Regions from separate parts of the Homo sapiens genome. Here all the other regions are linked to region 3. Evidence: promoter capture Hi-C in human tissues and cell types (Jung and others, 2019). All regions are on one chromosome and are shown on one strand. Each heading gives the region's core, a stretch centred on a gene start or on the middle of the fragment in contact. The rest is flanking DNA. Distances are from core to core; before and after follow the strand shown.

Region 1 (4,373 bases), core at 114-2,613, 170 kb after region 3:
AAATCTTAAAAAAACCTGACTGTGTAAGATAACAACATCTCATAGAGTAAGAACAGAACTAAAATGCTCAACAACAACAGCATGTAAATAAGAAGGGAAGTAATTTGCTCTCAAGTTCTTAGGGTTCGAAGGCGGAGCGGATAGATGATTAACTTTAGACTTGTCAAGTTAAGAAGGCATACTAAAATTTCTAGGGTAAGCAGGAAAGGAATGGAGCTCAAAATGCCCAAATTGGGAAAGGGAAATTAAAACTGGAATGAGAAAAAATAATCCAAAAAAAGGCAAGGAAAGAGAAAGAGAAACACAGAACAACTGTTAGAAATACAAAATGCAAAATATTGGGTGCAGGAAAAAAAATCCAAATATACTGATCTTTACCATGGTAGACAGAAAAACACAGCCATGGTATTTTGAGGTTCCTCCTCTCAAGAAGGGAAGTCTATTTCCCAGTGTTTTCTCTGGACTGGCTTTGGGACTTCCTTTGACCAAGAGAAGATGGCAGATTTGACAGTGGGCAGGGCCCAGCACCCAGGCCTCAAGGTCTTGTCCCTCCCCTGTCCTGGAACCTGAGACCACCATGCCCTGGGCCAGCAACCTTGAAAATGAAATCCATTGTGTAAAGAAACCACACGGAAGAGTCCCTGAGGTCCCAGCTGCTGCAGCACCTCAGCCAAGGCCCCAGACGAACGCGTAAGTGAAGTCATCTGGGACGGGCTCAGCCCCCGGCTGGCCTTCCAGCTGAATATGACAACGTGGGTGAACCCAGACAAGAGCAGCACGTGAACCGCCAGCCAACTTGGAAATTTGGATGGTGAGACAACAGGCCATTGCTAGTTTTTTTTTTTTTTTTTTTTTTGAGACAGGGTTTCGCTCTTGTTGCCCAGGCTGGAGTGCAGTGGTGCGAATCTCAGCTCACCGCAACCTCCGCCTCCTGGGTTCAATCGATTCTCCTGCCTCAGCCTCCTGAGTGGCTGGGATTACAGGCATGCGCCGCCACGCCCAACTAATTTTGTTTTTTTAGTAGAAAAGGGGTTTCTCCATGTTAGGCTCATCTCAAACTCCCGACCTGAGGTGATCCGCCCGCCTTGGCCTCCCAAAGTGCTGGGATTACAGGCGTGAGCCACCGTGCCCAGCCAGGCCATTGCTGTTTTAAACCAATTCCTTTGAAGAAGTTTGTTATGCAGTAAGAAGTAACTGATACATTTACAATGAACATAAGTGAAAAAAAGGAGTAAAGTTTTAAAACTTGGACTTAAAAACCAGAACAAAAAACATCCCACTAAATGCTCTTTAAAAGAGGCATATTTAAAACATACGAATACATAAAAGTTGGTAAAAGGGTAGAAAGTGACATACCAGACAAATTCTTACCAAAAAGTTGGTACCGCTATAAGAAAAAATAGGCAAAAAAACTTTAAGAAAAATAGACTAAAGCTATGAGTCACTAGATAATGATATTTTGTTCAGTTATTCACAAAGTCAGAATTTATATGCATCTAACAAAATAGTCTCAAAATATATAAAGCAAAAATTGACAGATGTACATGTAAAAATAAAATTTTTCCCAAAGGCAAAAAAAAAAAAATGTTGAAGATCTTACCAACACAATAGCAAGCTTGATTTAATGGACATAATATACTTCACTGATTATAAGATGTGCTTTTTTTTCACATTTTAACATATTTGAAGTGAATTGTGACATTTACATATCATTGCCTCCATAGCTGTGAATCTGACTATTGCTAGAGGCAAAACTAAACAACTGCTACTCCTTAACGTTTCATGCAAAAAAACAAAATTTAAGAATAATCTGATGAAGGATTATGAGTCTAGTCATTGCCACAGATTATTCATTGATACTTTCTGGTAAGATCAACAAAGTCTCAGCAGAAAATTCTGCAAAACATTAGAAAAAAATCCGGGAGACAATATAGGAGCACTCTTTAAGAACTGCTGTGTCACTAATGCCTTCGATGGTGACAGCACTGTGTAGAAAAACATAAATATCAACTATTCTGAGTAGACAACTGATTCAGGAGTTGGAATCTGTAAATAAGCTTCAGGAATACCTTGACCAACTTACTGTACTCATATTCCACCTTTTTTTTTTTTGGAGACAGAGTCTCGCTCTGTCGCCCAGGCTGGAATGCAATGGCCCAATCTCGGCTCACTGCAAGCTCCGCCTCCTGGGTTCACACCATTCTCCTGTCTCAGCCTCCCGAGTAGCTGGGACTACAGGCGCCTGCCACCATGCCCGGCTAATTTTTTTATTTTTAGTAGAGACAGGGTTTCACTGTGTTAGCCAGGATGGTCTTGATCTCCTGACCTCGTGATCCACCCGCCTCAGCCTCCCAAAGTGCTGGGATTACAGGCGTTAGCCACCGCACTCAGCTTCATATTTCACTTTTTATATATGTTCACAATAGAAAAAAAAAAAAGAAACCAATATTAAGTTGAAAAAAAATCAGACAGTATAAATAAAGATTCTAAGTGAGAAGGATTCATTGCCCCTGGTTTAGGTGCCAGCTTTTTTCTTCTTAATGGAACATAAGCTAACGACGCATCTTACAATTGATACAGACAAACTCAGTGGGATCATGGCACCCAACAGGTGTGCAATATACATTCAAGCACATGTGAAAAAAGAAAATAAATTTCAAAGGATTGGTGTAGTGGAGATGAAGGTGCTTTGCTCAATCTCTGGAGGTGCCTTCAAGTAAAGCAGAGTTTAGAAAGCTCAAAATTACATCTCCAGATCCTCTTATTCTGCCAAACAGAGGCAGTGTACAGGATTCAAAAGAGAGCAGTGAAGCAGAAGTCCTCGTCCTGCCCTTTTACACAGGCTGCTGCTCAGCTGGCCCACAAAGATGTGAAAGGTGAGGATTTTCTGCAACAGCTTTCTATCTAGTGTTCGTTCTCTAGATTCCTAGGAATTGAGAGTTCATTCCAGCACTGTGGCCTCCTGATTCAGGTTCTGTGGACCCCATCACGGCTGAGGATATGCACGGACCTCCATGGTTGCAGGAGTTGCCTAGCAGGCGAGAATTCCTCTGGTGACTCGATTTTGGAGAGCCAAGCCAGGGCCCACTCCTTTAGCCAACCCATGGCTCCCCAATCAAATCATTCCTTCCTGCTCAAAATACTTAGAGTGCTCTATGTTTCCTGTATCGAACTATAACAAACTACTGTTGTCATAAAGACCACATTCTCTGAACACAAAACAATCAAGTTAAAAATCAATTGCAAAACAGTGACTAGAGGATGAGTGCGGTGGCTCACGCCTGTAATTCCAGAGCTTTGGGAGGCTGAGGTGGGTGGATCACTTGAGCCCAGGAGTTCAAGGCCAGTTTGGGCAACATGGCGAAGACCCTGTCTCTATTAAAAATACAAAAATTAGCCAGGTATGGTGGTGCACACCTGTAGTCCCAGCTACTTGGGGGCTGAGGTAGGAGAATCACCTGAGCCTGGACGGCCAAGGCTGCAGTGAGCCATGATCATGCCACTGCACTCCAGCCTGGGTGACAAAGCAATACTCTCTCAAAAAAGCAAAAACAAAAAACAGTGACCAGGAAAACCCATTTGTTTGGAAATTAAATTAAGAAACACAATTCTAAATAAATCATTGGTCAAAGATAACAACGTAATGTAAATTAGAAAATACCAACAAAGGCCAGGCACGGTGGCTCACACCTGTAATCCGGAACTTTGGGAGTCCAAGGTGGGCAGATCACCTGAGGTCAGGAGTTTGAGATCAGGCTGGCCAACATGGTAAAACCCCATCTCTACTAAAAATACAAAAAATTAGCCAGGCATGGCAGTGCACGCCTGTAATCCCAGCTACTCGGGAGGCTGAGGCAGGAGAACCCCTTGAACCCAGGAGGTAGAAGTCGCACTGAGCCGAGATCTCACTACTGCACTCCAGCCTGGGCAAAAGAATGAGACTCCGTCTCCAACAAACAAATAAAAAACAAGAAAAGAAGAGAAAGATAATGTGAAAATATTACTTGTGTACTAAAGCTAGAACAACTTAGAAAATAACAACTTAAGATGCTACCACAGCGTGGGCAATATAGCAAGGCCCTGTCTGAAAAAAGCCAAAACACATTAGCCAGGTGTGGTGGTACATACCTGTAATCCTATCTATTTGGGAGGCTGAGACAGGATAGCTTGAGCCCAGCAATTTGAGGCTGCAGTGAGCTATGATCGGGCCACTGCACTCTAACCTGGGTGACAGAGCAAGGTCCTATCTCTTAAAAAAAAAAAAAAAAAAAAAAAAAAAAAGCTTATTTTAGAAAATAATTTTGTTGAAAAATGATAAACTAAGCACTCACCTTTAAAAATTAGAGAAACAACTGCTTAAACCCAAAACAGAA
Region 2 (4,282 bases), core at 298-2,797, 140 kb before region 3:
AGGCAGGAGAATCGCTTGAACCTGGGAGGCAGAGGTTGCAGGGAGCCAAGATGGCACCATTGCACTCCAGCCTGGGCAACAAGAGTGAAACTCTATCTCAAAAGAAAAAAAAAAACATAACCATGAAGGATTTCCAAATAAACAAAGCTTACCAATAAATATAAAGCAAGTCCCCAGTTTTTTATATCAATCTGTAACATCCATACCTTGTTATTATTACTATTATCCTTCTTTTAGTAACAGAAACGTTTGGAGTTTGGTTCAATGGAGGAAAGTCAGTTCAAAGTCCCACCCTATCAAATATATCCTAAAAATGCAATACCCAGCTACGGAATAGAGAAAGAAAATCTCCCCTTCCTGTCTGAAATTGACCAGACAAAAAGTTAAATGTTCACAGATGGTCACAGGTAATTCCACTGAATTCATGCATTATCAGGGAGAAATGATAGGCTTGACAAGTTCTAATTCAAAGACCTCTATTGCAAAGCTGAAGATGTTTGTTAAATAAGATTATTCAGAGAAATGGAACCCTGTGAACTTCCTCGAGATATAGTCATTGATACCCAGGGTTTTTTTTTCTTTCTTTCTTTCCTTTTTTTTTTTTTTTGAGTTGGAGTCTGGCTCTCTCGCCCAGGCTAGAGTGCAATGGCGTGATTTCGGCTCACTGCAACCTCCGCCTCCCAGGTTCAAGTGATTCTCCTGCCTCAGCCTCCCAAGTAGCTGGGACTACAGGCACGTGCCACAACGCTGAGCTAAGTTTTGTATTTTTAGTAGAGACAGGGTTTCACCATTTTGGCCAGGATGGTTTCGATCTCATGATGTCATGATCCACCCGCCTCGGCCTCCCAAAGTGCTGGGATTACAGGCATGAGCCACTGTGCCCGGCCAGTTTTTCTTTCTTTTGTGCCCTCCAAGGGGGCCATGCCCATCATCTGACAATTTTCTTTGCTTCCTTCCCTCTTTGGAATTCTCATTGGCCACGGCACGTCTGTAAAGAACCAAGCCACCTCCACTGACCCTGTTCTCACCTCTTCTGTTCTAGAATTCCAGGAAATGGTGCATTCTTAAAAGCCCCAGTCTCTGGAGAAAAGAGAGAAAGGGATAATCACCTGGAAGGATTCCAAAGCCCTGGGAATGGGGAACCCCACATCCCATCCCTACCTAATTTGTTAATTTTCCCTGAAAACCTTCTGCAGTTTGCTCATTGTTTTAGTGAGGTCACGAGGGAGTCACTCCTGACTTTCTTGGTGGTGGGTATATGCCCTGACAACTTCTGTAAGCCCCCCTTCCCCCAACAGGCAATGCCTCTAAAAATCACCCAATAAAGACAGGCTTCTCATCATCTGCTGATGTGTGGGCGTGTTTTTTCCTCAGCACGACACTCAAGCAAACTGGGACCAAGGGCTTTTTTGTAGGATTTCTGGTCCCATCAAGCTTGGAGCGGGCCACACTGGTGTTATGGTCCAGCAAACAAGGAAATCAGGTTTTGGAGGGTGTTTTTGGTTGTTTCTTTAGAGTCACAAATAAATGCCATTGTCAAGCTATTATTTTTCTCAGCAAATCTTGTGACACTGAAATTAATAGGAAGGGATTTTAGCCAGCATAAAATCACTCTTTTTTTTTTTTTTTTTTTTTTGAGACAGAGTCTCACTCTGTCACCCAGGCTGGAGTGCAGTGGCTCAATCTTGGCTCACTGCAACCTCTGCCTTCCAAGTTCAAGCTATTGTCCCACCTCAGCCTCCCAAGTAGCTGGGATTACAGGTGCACACCACCACACCCGGCTAATTTTTGTATTTTTAGCAGAGTTGGAGTTTCACCATGTTGGCCAGGCTGGTCTCAAACTCCTGACCTCAAGTGATGCGCCCACCTTGGCCTCCCAAAGTTCTGGGATTACAGGCGTGAGCCACTGTGCCCAGCCAGTCACTCTTACCGGTATGTTTTCTGCCATGTGTTAGAAAGCCACTTTGATTTAATTAAAAGCAAAAGGTACAAGACAAAACAGAATACGTGTCTGTAGTGGTCTGTAAAGCTCAGGAGAGACTTGCGATTCCAGGTTAGTACAAACGGACCCATTTCCTCTTTATTATTTATTTATTTTGAGACAAGGTCCAGCTCTGTCGCCCAGGCTGGAGTGCAGTGGCACGATCTCAGCTCACTGCAACCTCTGCCTCCTGGACTCAAACCATCCTCCCACCTCAGCTTCCTGAGTAGCTGGGACTACAGGCATGCACCACCACACCCGGCTAACGTTTGTGTTTTTGGTAGAGGTGAGGTCTCACTGTGTTATTTAGGCTGATCTCGAACTCCTGGGCGCAAGCGATCCTCCCACTCAGCCTCCCAAAGTGTTGCGATAACAGGCGTGAGCCACCGCACCCGGCCTTACTTTTTATTGTTTATTTATTAGAGATGGTGGGGGAGGGTCTCACTATGTTGCTCAGGCTGATCTCGAACTCTTGGGCTCAAGCCATCCTCCCACCTCAGCCTCCCAAAGTGTTGGGATAACAGGCATGAGCCACTGCGCCCGGCCTTACTTTTTATTGTTTATTTATTAGAGATGGTGGGGGAGGGTCTCGCTCTATTGCCCAGGCTGGTTTGGAACTGCTGGTCTCAAGCCATTATCCCACTTCAGCCTCCCAAAGTGCTGGGATTGCAGGTGTGAGCCAGCACAGATCCATTTTCAAGTCCTTTTTCTCCTTTTCATTTTGAGACAGTCTCACTCTGTCACCCAGGCTGGAGTGAGGTGGCATGATCTCGGCTCACTGCAACCCCCGCCTCCCAGGTTCAAGCAATTCTCCTGTCTCAGCCTCCTGAGTAGCTGGGATTACAGGTGCCCACCACCACGTGCAGCTAATTTTGTATTTCTAAAGACAGGGTTTCACCTTGTTGGCCAGGCTGGTCTCGAACTCCTGATCTCAGGTGATCCGCCCGCCTAGGCCTCCCAAAGGATTCCAAGCCACAATTAGGCATAAGACACCATACCTGGCCATCTTCTTCTTCTCTGAGAAACAAGCTATCAAAAAAAAAAAAAAAAAAAAGAGAGAGAGAGAAACGAGCCCTCAGAGAGGCTCACCTGCTGTCACCCAGTCCTCTGACACCTCCCGCTTCTCTTTCTCAGCCACTGGCTTCCTGGCTCTAAGGCGATTCACCTAAGCCCAATACACCTAGCCTTGCCTTCGGTTTGAGGTGAGCCTCCGGGGTTCTGTTACAGGGCTGTCATTAGGGCTGGGCAGTCTTAAGCCAGGAAATTCTCACCAGGCTGGTTTCCAGGTGGCACATTAAAGCTCTTCTCTTGGGCTAACCCTGTGAGTTGAGGACTCCTGGGAACAATTGAGGCATTTTCTGGAGAGCTTGTGTAAAAGCTCACACTTTTTACTAAACCCTCCAGCTCACAAGAGGCCTTGGGGCTCTTCCAGATTGCTTCGGGCACACTAACCAGCTTAGTGGCTTTTGAGCCTTTGTTTTCCAGAGGGTCATGTTAAATGTGGTTCCTCAAAGTATGGGGCACATACTAGCAGGGGGCCTCAAGATGACTTAGGGTGACAGGCACAAACTTTTTTTTTAACAGTATCACTCTCAGCATAGTGACTTTTTTTGTTTTTGTTTGTTTTTTGAGACAGTCTCACTCTGTCGCCCAGGCTGGAGTGCAGCAGCTCGTTGCAACCTCTGCCTCCCAGGTTCAAGTGATTCTACTGCCTCAGCCTCCTGAGTAGCTGGGATTACAGGCATGCACCACCACACCCAGCTAAGTTTTGTATTTTTAGTAGAGACGGGGTTTCACCATGTTGGCCAGGCTGGTCTCGAACTCCTGACCTCTGGTGATCCACCTACCTAGGCCTCCCAATGTGCTGGGATTACAGGTGTGAGCCACCACACCTGGCTGAGCCTTGATTCTTAAAACAATCCACATTTTGCCTTCACCGCCACAGCGTACACTGGTATTCTGCTCTGCTATTTTCTTTTCACTCCACCGACAGTCCCCAGCTAAGGATTCTTTATCTCATCAACAGTTCTAAATGGGTGATTCTGTCGTTCCATGGGGCTTCTGGCCACCATAGACACCTCAAAGAAACAACGTGGATGATAGCGCTTTTTAAATCACAGTTGTGAGTTTTCCACGGACCAAGAACTCCATTACCCACTGGAGCTGCCAAGACAACCTCACCCTAATCTAGGTTAAGAGCATGGATTTCTCTCTCTCTCTCTTTTTTTTAATAGAGATGGAGTGTCTCACTATGTTGGCCAGGGTGGTTTTGAACTCCTTGTCTCAAACGGTCCTCCCTCC
Region 3 (4,638 bases), core at 201-2,700:
GACGAGATCGCATCACTGCACTCCAGCCTGGGAAACAGAGTGAGACTCTGTCTCAAAAAAAAGAAAAGAAAAGAAACGACTGTCCTGTCGAGTCCAGAGACGTGATTTTCTATGTGTGAGAAAACATTTTAAATGGCTTTTTCAAGGCATGATAAATCTAAGCACCGGCAGCCAGCCTGCAAATGTAACAAACCACATGGCTCATCCACCTGGAAGATCACAATAAGTGAACAGGATGTAGAGGAGTCAGCCCATAAAAGGGAAGAAAGTTTCATTACTGGGAAATCCAAACTTAAGCGGGAAAGGGACCAGGGTATAACCTTCTAAGGGGATAATGCAACTTAGGCGACGTCCGGGAAGATCGTAACCCTGTAGTCCTTGACCAGTGAGGAACTGAGGTAGGGTCTTGCATGCTAGGAGATAAATCACCTGTTGTAACTGCCCTGGGTGTACCTGCCTACCAGACACGTGACCTTGCAAGAGGGCTATTAAAAGTCTCACTTTCACTGTTCTTTGTGCCTCTAAGTTCACTCTTTGGGTTTGGACGGGTGAGCATGTTTCTCGCACTACGAAAAAACTGATTTTTTTCTTTAAGACAGAGTCTTGCTGTGTCGCCAGGCTGGAGTGCAGTGGTGCCATCTCGGCTCACTGTAACCTCCACCTCTCAGGTTCAAACAATTCTCCTGCCTCAACCTCCTGAGTAGCTGGGACTACAGGCGCACGCCACCACAGCCAGCTACTTTTTGTATTTTTAGTAGCGACAGGGTTTCACCATGTTGGCCAGTATGGTCTTGATCTCTTGACCTCATGTTCTGCCCGCCCTGGCCTCTCAAAGTGCTGGGATTACAGGCATGAGCGACCGCACCCAGCCAACTTTGATATTTTTTAAAAGCTCCCAGATAACTCATATGTATTAGCCAGGGTTGGGAACTAATAGATCACACTAAATGGCTTTATTTAAGCAAAGAGTACAGACCCAAAACATCTCCCAAACTATTCCTATGCCGGAGAAAAACTGAACCCATAATGGGGAGAGGGAAGATTCTATTATAATAAAAACTAAAAAATAACTTAAGGTTAAAAGTTTTCTTACTTTAAAAGTAATAATTTTAACTTTGTATTTTAATGTATAAATTCCTCTGTTTTAGCTTTGATCATTGTTTCAGCTACACTTGAACTGGAGAGAAATCAGAAATAAAGGTGTAAGATGATAGCTTGAATATGTTTTTATGATAGAGTAGAAAACCCTAAAAACTGCTGACATTTGACATTCTATGATCAAGGAACAAAGTCTGGACGCTTGGTTCCAAACTGATGGATTGCCTTCACAGATCCAATTCTCGACAAATTCTAGAACAGTTCTAGAACTGAACTGAAAGAATCATCACAAAGAGACTGAAACTGACCAATTCCATAACAACATTTTCCCCTGAAGTCTTAAGTTTTTCTCATGGGGAATATAACCAGGAAAGGAAGCAGAGACCTGGTGGTTGACAGTGCCAAGTCCCTGGAAGATGGCCCATCTGCAGCACTTCACTCGAAACTCTATGAAGCCATCATGAGAGAAGACTGCACTACGATCGAGGTACTCCTGAGAAATCACCCTGTCAACCAGCCCATCACCATTCTGCCCAACTCCGCCAGCAACAGATTACTTCTGACCCAGGTACCCTCTTTTCTGCTCAGTCACTTCTGGAAAAAAGTCAGGCTGCTTAGAAAGAAGCATGATCTAAAGCTGGTGAACCCACTAAGCTCACGGCCCTTATGAGAATGAGACACGACTCCAGCTCACTCCACACACACTGCAGTGCTCCCCAAAGCCTGCAAAGCCTCCCCTACACATGTCACACACAAACCAACATGAGAAAACACCAGACCCTGTGTGACTGGAAGACCATTCATGTCATCTCTCAAACATACCCACAGTGATGATCTCCATGTGGTCAAATTAGTTTTTCCCTTTTTTGGCCAGACGCAGTAGCTCATGCCTGTAATCCCAGCACTTTGGAAGGCTGAGGTGGGTGGATCACCTGAGGTCAGGAGTTCGAGACCAGCCTGGCCAGCAGGGCAAAACCCCGTCTCTACTAAAAATACAAAAATTAGCCGGGCTTGGTGGCAGGAGCCTGTAATCTCAGCTACTCGGACGGCTGAGGCAGGAGAATTGCTTGAACCCAGGAGGCAGAGGTTGCAGTGAGCCAAGATCGTACCACTGCACTCTCTAGCCTGGATGACAGAGCAAGACTCCATCTCAAACAAACAAACAAAAAATAGTTTTTCCCTTTTTAATATATACATTTTCATTTTCTAAATTTTTATACAATGATTATTACTTTTACAATTAAATTCAAAAAGGAAGTCACCCTCCCTTGTACCCTACTGTCTTATCTTGCAGCCACGGTGTGAAACCACTACTTACACGTGTGTATTTTAAGAGCTGGCACAAACAGCTCTGCTAATCATAGACAGAACATATGCTGCGTTATATTTGAAAACCCTGAAGATTCAGGTTTTACTGCTGATAATACGACTTTGGCAACGACACAGCACCTACTTGTCCATCACCCTGTGGGTTAATTTAAGGAATAAGTGACTTCATAGCAAGTACCCTTAATATCACACCACAGGCTCTTCTGAAGAATCAACTTTCAAAAATTTCCAAAGCTTTTGAGTGTTATTTCTGTTGCCTCAGTAAATGTGCATTTCTGTGAAACACAGATTTTATAGGATGGAATTCACTGAATTTTGATCATTTAAAACAGGTAGTAGAAAGGAAACTTTCAATGCACATACCAGAAAAAGAGTGAGCCAATGAGACACTAAATAAATGTATTGCCTTTGAAACGGCAAGCTAACACAAACAGTATTTTTAACTACACAGGGCCACTTGTAATGTGTTTTGTTTTCCCTCCAAAGCCGACAGAGTCTATCATCCCCATCCATCTGGCTGCCAAGTACCACAAGGCCCAGAGTCTGCTCTGCCTGTTACGGCACGGTGCTGACCCAGAAGTCAGGTAAGTTAACTCCACCGAAAATCATTTCTTTTTTTTTCTTTTTTGTTTTGAGGCAGGGGTCTCGCTCTGTTGCCCAGGCTGGAGTGCAATGGCACAATCTCGCCTCACTGCAACCTCTACTTCCTGGGTTCAAGAGCTTCTCCCACCTCAGCCTCCCGAGTAGCTGGGATTACAGGTGTGCGTCACCATGCCCAGCTAACATTTGTATTTTTAGTAGAGACAGGGTTTCACCATGTTGGCCAGGCTGGTCTTGAACTCCTGGCCTCAAGTGATCCACCTGCCTCGGCCTCCCAAAGTGCTGGGATTAACAGCCCTCAGCCACAGCACCCAGCTTCACTGACAATCATTTCTAAGTGAGGATATACCTGATATAGATTTTTTTTTCAGTTCATACATTTTTTCCACTTATGTTTGGACTTGTTCGTTCTTATGAATGAACCAATGTCTTTACTGAGTAGATGAGATACTCTGAAAAACTGAGAAAAATGCAACATCATAAATATTTTGCCAAATTAATGCACATTCTGAGGATTAAGAGCTCAATGGTGGTGTTGTGAGGAATGCAGTAAAGTCCTTGCCATGGCCTTCAATAAGTTTAACCACCAAAGTTAGGTGTGAAAAATAAAATATAGGTAGACAATGGATTTTCTTTATTTTTGGTTTTTGTTTTTTGAGACAGAGTCTCGCTCTGTCGCCCAGGCTGGAGTGCAGTGGCACCATTCTCCTGGGTTCACGCCATTCTCCTGCCTCAGCCTCCCAAGTAGCTGGGACTACAGGCGCCTGCCACCACGCCTGGCTAATTTTTTGTATTTTTAGTAGAGATGGGGTTTCACCATGTTAGCCAGGATAGTCTCAATCTCCTGACCTCGTGATCCGTCCACCTCAGCCTCCCAAAGTGCTGGGATTACAGGCGTGAGCCGCCGTGCCTGGCCGACAATGGATTTTCTTGTTTATTACTCTCCACTAGAAGGTAAGCCGCATGAAAGAGAAGTTGACCTTGTGCACCACTGTATCTCCAGCACCTCAACCAAATCAATGCCTGACACTTAGCACGTGCTCAGTAATACTATCCGAGTGAATGAAAGAATTAAGTAGTATAGGCCGGGCGCGGTGGCTCACGCCTGTAATCCCAGCACCATGGGAGGCTGAGGTGGGTGGATCATGAGGTCAGGAGTTCGAGACCAGCCTGGTGAAACCTCATCTCTACTAAAAATACAAAAACTAGCCAGGCGTGGTGGCGGGCGCCTGTAGTCCCAGCTACTCGGGAGGCTGAGGCAGGAGAATCGCTTGAACCCGTGAGGCAGCAGTTGCAGTGAGCCAAAATCACGCCACCACACTCCAGCCTGGGCGACAGAGCAAGACTCCATCTCAAAATAATAATAATAATAGAACTTCTTGCCCCAAATCCTTACCATGCTCCAGAAGAACCCACCTGACCTGTCTTGCTCCCAGCCTCTCCCTGAGCACCCCACCCCAGCTCTGCAAGTCCTCTGGAAGTCCCTTCCACATCTCAACCATCACAGACTCGCCCCATTCTCCTTAGGGGACCCTTTCCTACCCTGCATACTGCATGCACTATGTGAGGCTTCTGCACCTCTCTAGAACTCTGCCGGCTTCCACTATTTAC

What was found. The method cuts DNA at HindIII sites, captures the fragments that hold promoters and counts their contacts. A contact is called where the count stands out against the background at its distance.
Region 1: a contact is called between a fragment that was not itself captured here and the fragment with the promoter of ANKRD61 in region 3, in 2 of the 25 tissues and cell types used here (dorsolateral prefrontal cortex and mesenchymal stem cells).
Region 2: a fragment that was not itself captured here is called in contact with the fragment with the promoter of ANKRD61 in region 3 in 2 of the 25 tissues and cell types used here (liver and mesenchymal stem cells).

Annotation. Positions count from the first base shown.
Region 1 is chr7:6,201,624-6,205,996 of GRCh38, forward strand. The region is part of intron 1 of CYTH3 (cytohesin 3); the gene reads right to left. Among named protein-coding and RNA genes, the nearest start is that of CYTH3, 69 kb to the right of the region's middle. The HindIII fragment of the contact is 3,612 bases long and covers 1-3,169 here.
Region 2 is chr7:5,885,022-5,889,303 of GRCh38, forward strand. It overlaps OCM (oncomodulin), which reads left to right. Exons shown (of 4, transcript NM_001097622.2): 4 at 1,043-1,342. The coding sequence ends at 1,068. Among named protein-coding and RNA genes, the nearest start is that of OCM, 6.4 kb to the left of the region's middle. The HindIII fragment of the contact is 5,338 bases long and covers 1-4,216 here.
Region 3 is chr7:6,029,926-6,034,563 of GRCh38, forward strand. It overlaps ANKRD61 (ankyrin repeat domain 61), which reads left to right and starts at 1,451. Exons shown (of 3, transcript NM_001271700.2): 1 at 1,451-1,666; 2 at 2,914-3,011. The coding sequence starts at 1,451. All of the region lies in intron 11 of EIF2AK1 (eukaryotic translation initiation factor 2 alpha kinase 1), which reads right to left. The HindIII fragment of the contact is 7,395 bases long and covers 1-4,292 here.